Regions from separate parts of the Homo sapiens genome. Here region 2 is linked to region 1. Evidence: promoter capture Hi-C in human tissues and cell types (Jung and others, 2019). All regions are on one chromosome and are shown on one strand. Each heading gives the region's core, a stretch centred on a gene start or on the middle of the fragment in contact. The rest is flanking DNA. Distances are from core to core; before and after follow the strand shown.

Region 1 (6,993 bases), core at 3,632-6,131:
GTGGTTCTTAAATGAAGAAAAATGGAGAAGACATCCAGGTAAAGAGAAAATTGCATTGAATGCCATTTATTTACATCCATTTGGTAAATGTAGGCAAATTGGCATGGTGTTGAAAGGGGCCCTTGGATGGAGTTATTTCTAATTATGGAGCCACTTTTCTGTAATCAGCTAGGAGTCTGTTCCTTAGCCCGCCTCTGGTTTCAGGGTAGCTGTGTGTGATTGAAAATTAGCTCTGTGAGTAATGTTTCTGCACGTTAGTAGTATAATGAAATAAGCACTAGATCTAGGATGATTTTCAAATATTCCCATAGAATTATACCATTTCCTATAGCAGAGAAATTCTGCCCGTGTCTGCTCTTGGAACACAGAAGCCATCCACTTCCATCTCTCTCTTCTCTTTCCATTCTTCACATTAGCATGTGAGAATCCATAAGCTTTGGCTATATCTATTTTCCCAATCAAAAGACAGTTTCCTCATTGCAACCTTGTTGAGTCCAGCATAACAATGTTGGGGGTGGGGAGCATGGTGCACAGCAGAACTGCACATGTTAGAGACGGTTTGGCAAGTTATTTAAGTGGAATTTTTGGGTAACAAAATGGAAAACAGGACATTGTGTCCTTTATTACCTAAGAACATGGTTTAATGGAAAGAACAAGAGCATGGAAGGCAGCCAGACAGAAATTCAAATCCTGTTCTCTGCCACTTGCTGGGCAACCTTGGGCAAATATCTCTGTCACTCTGAGCCTTGCATACCTTCTCTTTAAAATGGGGTCGTTTACCTTGTAGGTTTGTGAAAAAGCTGATAGAATCTGTTAAGTGTCTTTTACCTAGTGGATGCTTAATAAATGGTAACACTTACTATCATCTCCAAGCCCCCGGGCCTGCTTCTTTCCTGTGTTTGGATGGAATTTCTGCTGGAAAGAGGAAAAGAAGATGAGAAATATTGTAGACACTTTTACATGTCTGTTTTTCTCATTGTTTTTCGCAAGTGTGCCTCCCTCTGTCCTCACCTTAGCCCTTAGGAGCCAACTGAGCAACCGAATATATTCATGTTTACAGGGTTTACCTATGATAATTATTGAATTTGGTGCAGTGCTTTATACATCATACAGGGTATTAATAACAGTAATATCCCAGTATAAACTGGTATTACTAGACCTTCTGGAGCAGAGGGGTTACTCAGCTGTTCACCTGCCGCTTTAATTTTTAAGCCCTTGGGCCTTCTGGGATCTACACCCAAAAACCTGGAGATCTCTTTCAAATATCTTAAGTCCTATAAAGGGACAAAATACTAAAATGGCAATGCTTCTAACAAGCTTAACATGTATTCAAAAATGGCAAGTTAGGGGATTTTTATGTCTTTTTTTTATTAGAAAAAAACATATTACCATAACTTCTGGCTGAAATTCAATACCTACTCATATTTAGAAAAAGTACAGCTAATACTTAGCAAGGAAAGAGAGGAGTTTGAAACTTTGATGAAGAAAAATAAGGCACTTTACCTGAACAAATTTCAAATGGATCCATTTAAAATGAAATTAAGTGGCACTTAATTTGCAAATTGGGACCTATTTATCTCAGTAAAATGATTAAAGTCCTGATTTATCCCTAAAATTGGCTTTATTATTACATCTAATTATACTAGAAGATTATTAAAGACTTGTAGGTTTTCTCTGTCCCTTTAAACTGTACTTTATACAGACAATAATTGAATATTAGATAGGATAACTTGATTTTCCAAAGAAATATGTTTCTAATATTTTCTTCTTTTTATTGCAGAAATTGAGACAACTTGAAGAAACAAAAGACGATCCCGAGAATAGATTATCGAAAATTTCCCTAGAGTCATTCAATAAATTTAACAGCAATACTGTGATTTTATTAGAAAAAGAGAAGAACTCTCTGAACAAGGTTGAAGGACAGAAGGAAGAAAAAGAAAAAAATGAAGAGACATCTTTGAGTAGTTCAGATAGGCCTGGGGTAGACAACTTGGAATCTTTGAGTGATTCTTTATATGATAGCTTCTCTTCCTGTGCCAGTCAAGGTTCAAATGATGTATAAAGGACATCTCTTCCCTTAGTGAGCTGGGACTGGAGCGCTTAAGAAATGATGGGTGGGGGGTGGGGGGTGCACCGCTTGATAGAGATAACAATAAACTATTGCAGTACCAGAGCCTTCCTTGTCAAATTCACAGCAGGCAACCCACCAGAGCTTATTTCTCTGACAGGGCAATAAAGATAGACTCCATTTATTGTGTTTCAAGAGGATTAAGCGTAAACACATCTATGATACAGAATCCTTAATTTTGCACTTTTTTTGAATATTTGTACAGAAGTTGTAAATTTTTTGGAAGAGAAATTATATTTGTAGCAAAAAAAGACAGCAATAAATGGAATCAGTGCCATGCTCTTGAAATAATGTACTAAGTCTTAGAAGTTGATGATAATATATATTTTTTAAAATCCCAACTGAAGTTTTTGTGAAGTTCGTTGTCCTGGTCCTCAAATTGTTTGTGGGTACACTCTGTAAACCTACAACAGGGCCTGCCAAAAAATCGGAGGGTTCCTCCTCATCTCCATCTCACAAATCTCAATTTGATGGAAATGTTCATTTTAGTGTAATTTCAGATTCGTTGCCAGAGATTCAGGTGATAGTAATAAGTGTCATTCTGCTTCTGCTGAAAAATGAAAAGGGTCCTGAAGTGTGGACACTGATTGGGAGTGTGACATTGTATCAGAAATGACCGAATTCTATTCCCAATACCAGTTTTTCCTTCCAGACATTTCTTTAGATTGTCTTTTACTTAGTGCTTCTCTATGATCCTGAATATTATTTGATTTTTATCTTCTTGCTCTTTTTATTAAAATCTGGGCACTCTAAAAATGAAAACAAATTTCTATTTGCAATGTTCACTTTTAAAAATAAAATTAATGGTGCTACGAAGAATTCTTTTTAATATCCTTTTTTTTCTACAAAGACTGTTTATATGTAAGGATAAATTCTATTTTAAAGGTTATGTGTATTTTTTCTAGATGTGAACTATTTATAATTACTTATGTACAGGAGCTTGTAAACTAGGCCCAATAGAAATATTTTTAGGATCTATATGGCTACTTTAGCACATAATTGTTTCTTTAAAGAGTATTGTATGATCAGTGTTATTTGGTTAATTTGTGCAATTTGTTTTATTTTATCTTAAATGAAAATTATGTAAAATGTCCTTGTCTTTCAGACTTTAAAAAATCTTTTTGTTTCCTTTCTGAATAAAAGTTATATCACATTTGCACCCTCTGAAAACAGAAAATAACTTGCTCAAGGACCTTTTGGCCCAGTCAGTTACTTGAATCATGACTCACACGTGCTCTTACAATGGGTTCCCAGAAGGAATAAATAAATTGGCCCTTTTGCTCCAGAGATAGTAATTTAGCCAATTGTAAGATCAGAGTCTGCAGACAGGTGAGTAATGGTCAAAGCATTTCAGTCTCCCCGAGGGGTTAACCAAATAGAAATGAAAGAAGGGGGAGAGGGAGGGAGGGAGGGAGAGAAGGAGCCTGAGGCAGATATGGAACGATCTCTGCAGAGGAATTACAAAGAAAGTCATTTAAGCCCCTTTACAGACCAGCTCTGCTGGGAGGATGCAGAAATAAATGATCAGCGTCCCGGCGTGAGAGAGCTGCCCCCAGAAGTGGCCGGGGGAGAAAAGGGTGAAGAGGAGCTAAAGCTTAGGAGGCGATTTCCACGGAAATGGATGCTCCCTAAGGATGTGCGGAAAGGGGATGGGAATGTGCGGATTGGGGGCGGGGGCACCAACGCACTCCGGCGGGCAAGCGGTCTCCCGCACCACCTGCTGCAAGGCTCGGGAAGGAAGGCGAAGATAGCACCGGGGCATCCCCGGGAGTCCGCAAGGTGGGTCACTTGGACTTTGCGGAAAGAAGACGAATTTGAGGGGTGTGGGGAGCAGCCAGAGGCCGAGTCCGAGGCTGGGATGGCCTTTCAGGAGAGGACGTGGGAGTATGTGCTAATAATCGGTGGCTTTGGGGAAAGCAGAATGGAGCCGGCTGGCGTTTGGGAGACAAGGAATGGAGGAGAACAACCCTCTTCCTCACCCTGATTTGCTTTCTGGTAGGACCTCACGGCAGGTGTCCCCGGGACGGCGTTCTCCTAGGCTAGGCGACCAGGGCGGTGTCAATGCACCCTCCAGCGGTGCGCGCAGGCGGGAGAAGGGAGGGCGGCCCGGGCAAGTGAGACAGTTAAGGCAGTGTCCCCACCACACCCCCACCCAGATTGGCCACGCCGAGCTGGTTCTTGACAGAAGGCCTTCGCGGAGGAAGAGGGGGCACAGCTGCACAGGACACCCTACGGAGCCTGCGGGCGTGGAACTTTGCCAGGCGCACGGGAACGCGCGCCCTTCCTGTCAGCCTCCCGGGGCGCCAGGCTCCCGCGGCCCGCAGCGGGACAGCCTCAGTTGTGTGGGCTGGACCCAGTCGCTGGGGTACCGACCAGTCCTGGAAGGCGCAGAGGACGTGGAGTGGGGAGGCTGCCTTCCTATGTGCGAAGGGCCAGCCGGGCACGCAGTCCTCAGACCCTAGTCCGCACCCGGCAGGTCCCCACGGCACCTGCTGCGCCCTCCTCGCCGCTCCCCCAACCTCCCCATCTCAGAAAACTACCAGTTCTCTCCCGCCCCCCGGCGCCCCTTTCCCAGGAACGTGCGGAGGCGGGAGAAGAGGAAGACAGGAAGGGGGTGGGGATGTGAAGCGACCGTCCCAGCCTTCCCCGCCCGCCACCCCCACCCCAACTCGGCAGCCGTCACGTGATGCCTGGAGTGGGAGGTGGGGAGAAAAGGCGAGACTTTTGTGGGTGCTCCCGATCGCCAGTAGTTCCTTCAGTCTCAGCCGCCAACTCCGGAGGCGCGGTGCTCGGCCCGGGAGCGCGAGCGGGAGGAGCAGAGACCCGCAGCCGGGAGCCCGAGCGCGGGCGATGCAGGCTCCGCGAGCGGCACCTGCGGCTCCTCTAAGCTACGACCGTCGTCTCCGCGGCAGCAGCGCGGGCCCCAGCAGCCTCGGCAGCCACAGCCGCTGCAGCCGGGGCAGCCTCCGCTGCTGTCGCCTCCTCTGATGCGCTTGCCCTCTCCCGGCCCCGGGACTCCGGGAGAATGTGGGTCCTAGGCATCGCGGCAACTTTTTGCGGATTGTTCTTGCTTCCAGGTGAGAATACCCAGAGGCCAGCAGCCGAGGCCAGGTGCGCACAATCCATCTACCCGCCAGCCCTTTTGCCCCCAAGGCGCCCACCTCGGGGCCAGCCCTGCGCTGGGGCTGCCCAGCGGGAGTTGGCGGCCGCGACTGGTGCCCCGGGGCGCGAGGCTGGGAAAGTGTCCAAGTCCCGCGCTGCAGGAGGAGAGCGGGGAGCGGCGGGTTTGCGGGACTCCGGGCTGCAGCTTGTCCGGCTGCACCGTCGGGAGAAGCTGGGCTTGAGAGGAGGGAGGGTCCGAGCGGTGCTGGGTTCTGGGCGAGGGAGAGGGGGCGACATCTCCCGAACCCTGCCAAGTTGTCTGGCGCCTCCGGCACCCCGTGGGAGTGGCGCCGCCGACAGGTGAGCGATGCGCGAGGCAGCCTGCGGCCACGCTGAAGCTGGGTTGCTGCGCTCAGAGTGCGATAGATGTGGGGCTGCGGGAGCGTGGGTAGTTGGGTCTAGACAGGAGCGCGTACACCGAGAACAGCCAGGCCGAAGCGTCCAGAGGCGCAAAGGTCTCGCGTCCTCTCTCCAGTTCGCCTACTGGCTCCCGACTAAGCTCTGCAGAGCTGGAACCCCGACCACTGACCCTAGTCGAACGGTTGTCCTGAAAGCCGGGGCCTGGAAGAAAGGGCTGCGGGGTCGGGGATCCAGGGTGCGCGCGCTCACAAACGCCCTTTCCCACCCTCTGTGGCCATTCGGGTCGCCGCGGGGACGGCCCCGGAGAAGGGCCGCCGACCCGGGCTCGGGGACTTGCGGCGCAGCAGCGCTTGGCGTCTGGCACCTCCACCCAAGTTGTTCCCAGGTGGTCGCTCAGGGATCCTCAGAGCCCTGGCACAGAAACGCTGACTTTAAAAATTAAATAAATAAAAACTAAAAAGACGTCTGCGAATGTAATCACGAATGGTGCCAAAATAGTAATTAAGTAATTTGTAACCAATTAGCAATTAGGCAAATCCTTTGGCTTAGGCTGGAGCTAACGCACATCTCCAGAGCTACTTCACTCTTGCGGTGGTACCGTCCCCACCCTCCCTTCAACTTCTTGGGAAAAGGCCTGGGGTGGTAATGGATGGGCGCTTTGTGTCTAGAGCCGGGGTCCAGGGGTGGCGGGCACTATTCCACTTTCTTCCGTAGGACCCTAGGTACCCGCGCCGCCCCCTGCCGGTGTCAGCCACATCCAGCCCTACCCGGAGACCCAGGAGTGGTCTAAGCCTGCCAGAGGCTGGGAGCCGCCTGGCTCTGAGGCGTGGGATGGTCGTGATTTCCGGGGTGGGCTCTGTGGGGGCCGGATCTGAACCCGACTGCGTCTGTCTCGCAGGCTTTGCGCTGCAAATCCAGTGCTACCAGTGTGAAGAATTCCAGCTGAACAACGACTGCTCCTCCCCCGAGTTCATTGTGAATTGCACGGTGAACGTTCAAGACATGTGTCAGAAAGAAGTGATGGAGCAAAGTGCCGGTAAGAGCCTGGCAGCCCTCCCCCTCGCTCTTAAGCCTGGGCTGTGGGGTGGGAGTGAGGGGGCCATTAAATAGCAGGAAAAAGGACTGACTTTGATTTAATGCCCACACACTGGTTATCGCAGATTTAGTTTTACAGTGCTGGGAAAATGAAGAGTTCCAAGTTACTTTAATCTCATTAGAGTTAATTACCAAGGCTTCTCCCCAAGGGTCTTGGGAGGGGAAGTGCATGTAAATTAGTGGCTCTCCTCTTTTTATTTACTCCCTTCACCTCCCTATGCTAAAAGCTGATGGAGGTAGAAAATATA
Region 2 (6,798 bases), core at 1,685-4,184, 77 kb before region 1:
AAAAAAGACAACAACTTTGCATGTTTCAAACTTAAAATGCAGGGTCAGAGGTGCTAAACTTACTCCTGAGCCTTGACATCTTTCATACAACTTCCCTAGCTTTTCAGAAATCAAGATAATGCACCCTAAACAGAAATGATCCTGAAACAACCATACGTAAGTTTCAGTTATAGTTTTGCCGCTTATTAACTAAACAAACCTTTGCGTCAGTTTCTGTATCTGTAAGCTGGATATACTGATTTTTGCCTTCCCTTACTCGGAGCATGATTGTTGGGAGGATAAAAGGTGGTGAGGCTCATGGCATCATAGTTTAAATGTAAAGTGAGCCCAAAGTGCAAGGGACTCCTTTATACTAGCCTCCAGGGCTCTGCTAGATACTGAAGTCACAGTCATCTGCCAGCCAGTTAACCATTTCCGTTCCTATCAGAACTCTAGTTGAAACACTGTCCTGCGTGGCTAAGCAGACATTTGAAGGTTTTTTTTCCCCCATGTATTTTGTCTTATATGTATTTTAAGTAAAAAAAAAAATGCTACCTTTATAACACTCTTGCTTTCAAAGACCAAAGACCAGAACCTCTTCTCATTAGGTCTGTTACAGAGAGTGAATACAGGTAGGACGAGCCAAAGGGCCTGGGGATACGGCTTGGTAGTGCGTTGATGGTAAATGTGGAAAAATAATTTTAAAAGGACCATCTTTTTCAACTGGAGATTTTCTTTTAGGAAGTGAGATTCGGTTGGGTGCAGCACCTGTAATCCCAGCACTTTGGGAGGCCAAGGCGGGTGGATGGCTTGAGCCCAGGAGTTCGAGACCAGCCTGGGCAATATGACAAAATCCTGTCTCTACAAAAAATACAAAAATTAGCCAGGCATGGTGGCTTGCACCTGTAGCCCCAGCTACTGAGGAGGCTGACGTGGGAGGATGGCTTGAGTCTGGGAGGTGAAGGTTGTAGTGAGTGGAGATACAGTACCACTACACTCCAGCCTGGGCAACAGAGCAAGACACTGTCTCCAAAGTAAGAAAGAAAATGAAACTGAAGAAAAAAAAGAAAAAACTATATCACACCAAATAGGTTTTAAATTATATCAGACTATGTATTTATTTTAAATAATAGCTATAAAACCTCATTAGAAAGGAAGTGCTGACAAAAAGTCTCGACTTCGGCTGGGCATGATGGCTCATGCCTGTAATCCCAGCAACTTTGGGAGTCCGTAGGGGTGGATCACCTGAGGTCAGGAGTTCAAGACCCTGAAACCCCATCTCTACTAAAAATACAAAAATTAGCTGGGTGTGGTGGCATGCAACTGTAGTCCCAGCTACTTGGGAGGCTGAGACAGGAGAATTGCTTGAACCCAGGAGACGGAGGTTGCAGTGAACCAAGATCACGCCATTGCACTCCAGCCTGAGTGACAGAGTGAGAATCCGTCTCAAAAAAAAAAAAGTATCCTGACTTGGTTTTAAATGGTTCACTAGAGTCCATAAGGGAGTAGTAATTGAATTAGAAAAATAAATAAATACCAAAGGAGGGAACTAGAATATAAATATATCCTAGCAACATAATGGAATTTCTTTGAAACAGGGAGAGTAGGGTACGGGTATAGTTGTTGCAGAGCAGCGCAAAGAGCTCTGGACTTGGTGTTAGAAGACCTGGCTTTGAATTCCGGCTTCTGCATATGTGCTCATGTCCCTAAGAGATAATGTTCTCTATGCATTTGTTTTATCTGAAGAATGGAAATAATTACTCCATTTATAGAAAAAGTGTTGCCATAAACTCAACTGAAGTAATGACTCAGAAAGAATGTAGCAGACATTTCCACTCCAGGAGTGAAGCCTGATGAAGGCGGTCATGGCAATCTTCCCTGCCAGTGATTGGTTCAGAAATTCAGGCCTGGGCCAGTCAGTGAACAGCATTTTCCAAGAGATACAAATTTGTCTGGGAATGAGTTTATGACCTTATTTGCCTAATTTTCAAGGGACAGGTGGTTGGAGGTATAGAGAAAGGCACACAGAGAGTCAACTTCTCTCTCCCTTAGACATGGGAGTGTGTGGCTGACTAGTATGGAGCTACTAAAACCTCCTGATAACAGCTTGAAGATAAAACTGATACATAGCAGGGACACAGTGAAGAGAACTGCAGGCAAATAGAGGCGGAGGCCCTGGATTAAGGCAGCCCTGAAGCTTGTTCTAATTCTGCACTGTGAGCTAATACCATTCTTCACCATTTAACATGTTACTTTCCACCAAGAGCATCCTTACTGATTCAGAATGCTTGGTAAACTGAATACAGAAGAAGGTACTATAACCATGTAGCAATCAAGCCTGAAGCTTTGAGGTTTGCACAGGCCCCAATCCAAATCCTGGTTTTCCTACTTATAGCTATAGGCCTACGGGCAAGTTATTGACCTCCTTAAACTTCAGTTTCCTCATAGGAAAAATGTGTCCATTACACATTGCATAATGACATAATACAAGTGAAGCACCTGCCCAGTAGTAAATAATCAACAAATGTTGTTATGCTGCAGAAAGGTGAGGTGTAATGAAGGTCAAATGCATTTGCACAGAGCATATATCAGCTACCTGTAAGGTCCTGAATCAGAGGCTCTGCTCCTTAGATGCCCTCTCTGCAGAGGAGTGTCTGGGGCACACAGCTATGGAAACCAGGGATCCCCACCCTACTGGAAAGAGGTTGATGAATAAGAAGATCCTGAGCTTCAGAGTCAGGCCGGCACTTCTTCAAGTGACCATTTCACTTCTCAGAGTTCTGCTTTCCTCCCCCATAAAATGAAGATAATAATAGCTATTTCCCACGATTATTGAAAAGATAAAGGAGTTCACAAAGCCCTTTGTGACCTGCATAGATCTGGGATTAAGGAATAGCATCAGTCTTGTTCCCTGGTGATTCTTGAAGATGCTTTCTTGCCAACACCACTTTCAGATGCCTCTAATGATTATTCAAGCGTGTACCCTGGGGAAAGCACAGTTCCTTTGCTCATCTGTGTTCAACCAGAGTTCACTGTTTGATTTCAGTTTTGGTTTTCTTTGTTTTGTTTTTTTTTTTTGGCAGGCTGAGTATAAAATGTTTAAAAGCAGGTTCATGGAGGTATAATTTATATATAACAAAATTCATCCTTTTGAAGTGTATAGTTCAGTAAGTTTTTGTAAATGTATACAGTTGTATAACCACTATCACAATCAAGATTTACAACACTTTCATCACCCCAAAATACTCCTTCACGCCTTTTACACCCCACCCTCTCCTAATACCACTGCTCCCAGGGAACCACTGGTCTGCTTTATATCAGTGTAGTTTTGCCTTTGCTAGAATTTCATGTAAATGGAATCAATGATAAAATACATAATATTGGGGGTTTGGCCTCTCTTAATAAGCATAATGCTTTTGAGGGTCATCCATGTTGTATCAGTGGTTTTTTAGTTTGTTTATGTTTTTATTGCCCATTAGTATTTTGTTGTATGAATGTACCACAATTTGTTTATCCACTGGCTGATAAACAATTTGATAGTTTCCGGTTGGGGCTATTATGTGTAAAGCTGCTATAAACATTTGTGTATAAGTCTTTGGGGGGACATATAACAGTAAGAGTATTATAGCTGTGTTGCATGATGGGTATATGTTGCTTGCGTTTTATTTTCTTAACCGTGTCTTTGAAGACAAAATTTTTAATTTTGATTAAATCTAATTTATCATGCTTTTATTTTATGGTTCATGTTTTCTTGCTCTATTTAAGAAATTGATGCCTAATCCAAGGCCACAGAGATACTCCGATATTTTCTTCTGGATGTTTTGTGGTATTAGATCTTGTGTTTGGGTTTATGTGTTAATTTTTATATACAGTGTGAGAAAAGGGTTTACTTTTCTTCAGATGAGTATTTATTGTTTTTAATACCTTTTGTTGAAACACTATCTTTCTTCCGTTAAATTACATTGTCATCTTTGTCAGAAATCAATTGAAAATATATGTGTGAGTCTATTTCCGGAATGTCTGTTCTGTTCCACTGACCTATGTGCAAATCCTTACCCAATACCACACTCTCTTAATGAACGTAGCCTTATAAAGAATTCAGGCAGTGTCAGACCTCTGACCTTGTTTTACTTTATGAAAATGTTTCCATTTTCACATAATTTTAGAATCAATGTGTCAACGTCTTTTTTTAAAAAAAAACCTGATAGTGTTTTGATTAAAATGTCATTGAATCTGTAGATCAATTTGAAGAGAATTGATATCCGAACAATTTTGAGTCTTCTGATCCATGAATATGGCAGATCTCTCCATTTATGTCAGTATTCTTTAAATTTATCTCTACAATGTTTTGTACTTCTTAGTGTACAAGGTTTCACCATTTTATAAGATGTGTTTTTTTCATATTTTGATGCTGTTAGAAATAGTATTGTTTAATTACCAATTATTTATAATACATACTAATACAATTGATTTTGCTAAATTATCCTTGTATGATGTAACCTTGCTAAACCACTTATTAGTTCTCATAGTGTTTTGGGAGATCCCTTAGAGTATTCTACATACACAATTATATTGTCTTCAAATAAAGACAGTTATACTTTATTCTTTCTAATCTCTATGCCTTTTATTTCTTTTCCTTACCTTGTTGCACTGGCTATAACCTCCACTATAATGTTAAATGGAAGTGGTAAGAGCTAACATTCTTAACATGCTCTCAGTCTTAGTGGGGGAACATTCAGTCTATTTTTTTCAAATATGGTGTTATCTGTAGGTTTTCTGTAGATGCCCTTTTACACTTGTACAGAGTGAGAAAGTTCTCTTCTATTCCTAGTTTGCTGTGTCTGTTTTTTTTTTGTCTGTCATGAAAGGATGTTGAATTTTGTTAAATGATTTTTTCTATGTATTTTGAGATAATCATATGGTTTTTCTTTTAATATTGATTTATTTTTAAATGCTAAACAAATTTTACATTCCTTGGGTAAATGCCACTTGGTGAGTAATTTGCTTAATTATGCAAAAATGCTTAATAGCAAATCAATTATTAAACATTCTTGCATCCATTTTCATGAGTTATATTGATCTCTATTTTTCCTCTATGTATGATGTCTTTGAGTTTGATATCAAGGTAATATGGTCATTATAAAATGATGTGGAAAGTGTTTGCTCTTCTCCTGTTTTCTAAAGGAGTTTATAAAGAAATGATCATTTTTTTCATCCTTATAAATTCTGAAGAATTCAATAGTGAAGACATCTAGGCCTATAATATTTCATGAAAATATTTTTAATTCCAAATTCAATTGCCTAAATTGATATAGGACTATTTGGTTTATCTTTTTTCTTGAGTGAGTTCTGGTAGTTGGATTTCTCAAAAAATATTTCCATTTTATCTGAATTGTAAAATGTGTTGGCTTAAGTTTGTTCATACATACATATTATCTGTTATTCACTGGAAGATCTGTAGTGATGCCTCCTTATTCATTCATAATATTGAGAATTTTTGTCTTTTCTCCTTTAGTCAGTGTTTCCTCAATCTAGTTGGAGGTTTGTCAGTTGGATCAGTCATGTAAAATAACCAGCTCTTTGTTTCATTGATTTTTAAATTGTTTTTTTTTTTAATTTTCTTAATTTCAGCTCTCATTTTTATGTCTTCTGCTTAGTTTATGTTTAATATGTTCTTATTTTTCTAGTTTCTTAAAATGAAGTCTCAGAGCACTTATTTTAAGCCTGTCTTATTTGTGCTGTACATTTTTGTTAAGGCACTGTTTAGCTGCATTCCATTGTATTTTCATTCATTTCAAAATATTATTTTCCATTTAATACACAGGAAATTTAGTAGTGTACTGTATAAGTTGTAAATGTTTGGAAATTTTTCTAGACATCTTTCTTCTATTGACTTCTCTTTTAATTCTCTGATGCTCAGAGAACATATTTTCCATGGCTTCGGTGATTTTAAATTTTCTAAGACTTCTTTTATAATGAAGGATATGGTCTATCTTAATCCATGTGTACCCAAAAAGAATATGCATTCTGCCCTTGATGGGTAGAGTGTGCTGCACAATTCACATTGGTCAAAGTTTTAAATTATATTGTTCAGATCTTCTATGCCTTGTGATAGTCTCTCTACTTGTTGTATTAATTACTGAGAGAAGACTTTTCATTTTAATTTTAGATCTGACATTTTCTCTTTTAAGTTCTGTCAGTTTTCTGCTTCATAATTTTGGAGTTCTATTGTTATAGATATACATATTTAGGATTATAATGTCTTGATAAATTTACCTTGTTATAACTATAACATATTTCTTCTGATCCCTGGTAATATTTCCTTTCTAAAGTTTACATTTTCTGATATTAGCATAGTGACTCTAGCTTTCTTTTTATTAGAGTTTGCATGCTATATATTTTTCTGTCCCACTTTTCACCTATCTGTTTTTTATATTTAAAATGAATGTTTTATCTACAGCATATAAATAGGTATATTTTGTATACCAATTTTTATTTTATCCAATCTGACAATCTCAGCCTATTCATTGGAGTGTTTAGACTATTTTAATTTTATGTAATTATCTAAATGGTTGGATTTAAATCTACCATATAATTATTTATTTTCTGATTGTCTCATCTTTCTATTTTCCTCCTTTTCTACCTTTTTGACTTGAATGTTTTTATTGATTCTGCTTTATTTCCTCTTGTAACTTATTAGCTATACCTCTCTATTTTCCTGTTTTAGTGAGTGGTTTAACATTTAAATGTAATTTTATTACATTGTTACTTTATCATAATCTATTTTACATAATATGTTACAGGCTATTTTCATATAAC

The links. The method cuts DNA at HindIII sites, captures the fragments that hold promoters and counts their contacts. A contact is called where the count stands out against the background at its distance.
Region 2: a contact is called between a fragment that was not itself captured here and the fragment with the promoter of LYPD1 in region 1, in 2 of the 25 tissues and cell types used here (heart right ventricle and thymus).

The regions. Positions count from the first base shown.
Region 1 is chr2:132,668,093-132,675,085 of GRCh38, reverse strand. It overlaps LYPD1 (LY6/PLAUR domain containing 1), which reads left to right and starts at 4,881. Exons shown (of 3, transcript NM_144586.7): 1 at 4,881-5,205; 2 at 6,549-6,686. The coding sequence starts at 5,154. It overlaps NCKAP5 (NCK associated protein 5), which reads left to right. Exons shown (of 20, transcript NM_207363.3): 20 at 1,781-3,298. The coding sequence ends at 1,797. RefSeq lists an enhancer at 5,055-6,018. The HindIII fragment of the contact is 6,763 bases long and covers 877-6,993 here.
Region 2 is chr2:132,743,431-132,750,228 of GRCh38, reverse strand. The region is part of intron 16 of NCKAP5 (NCK associated protein 5); the gene reads left to right. Among named protein-coding and RNA genes, the nearest start is that of LYPD1, 77 kb to the right of the region's middle. RefSeq lists an enhancer at 2,885-3,054. The HindIII fragment of the contact is 3,953 bases long and covers 958-4,910 here.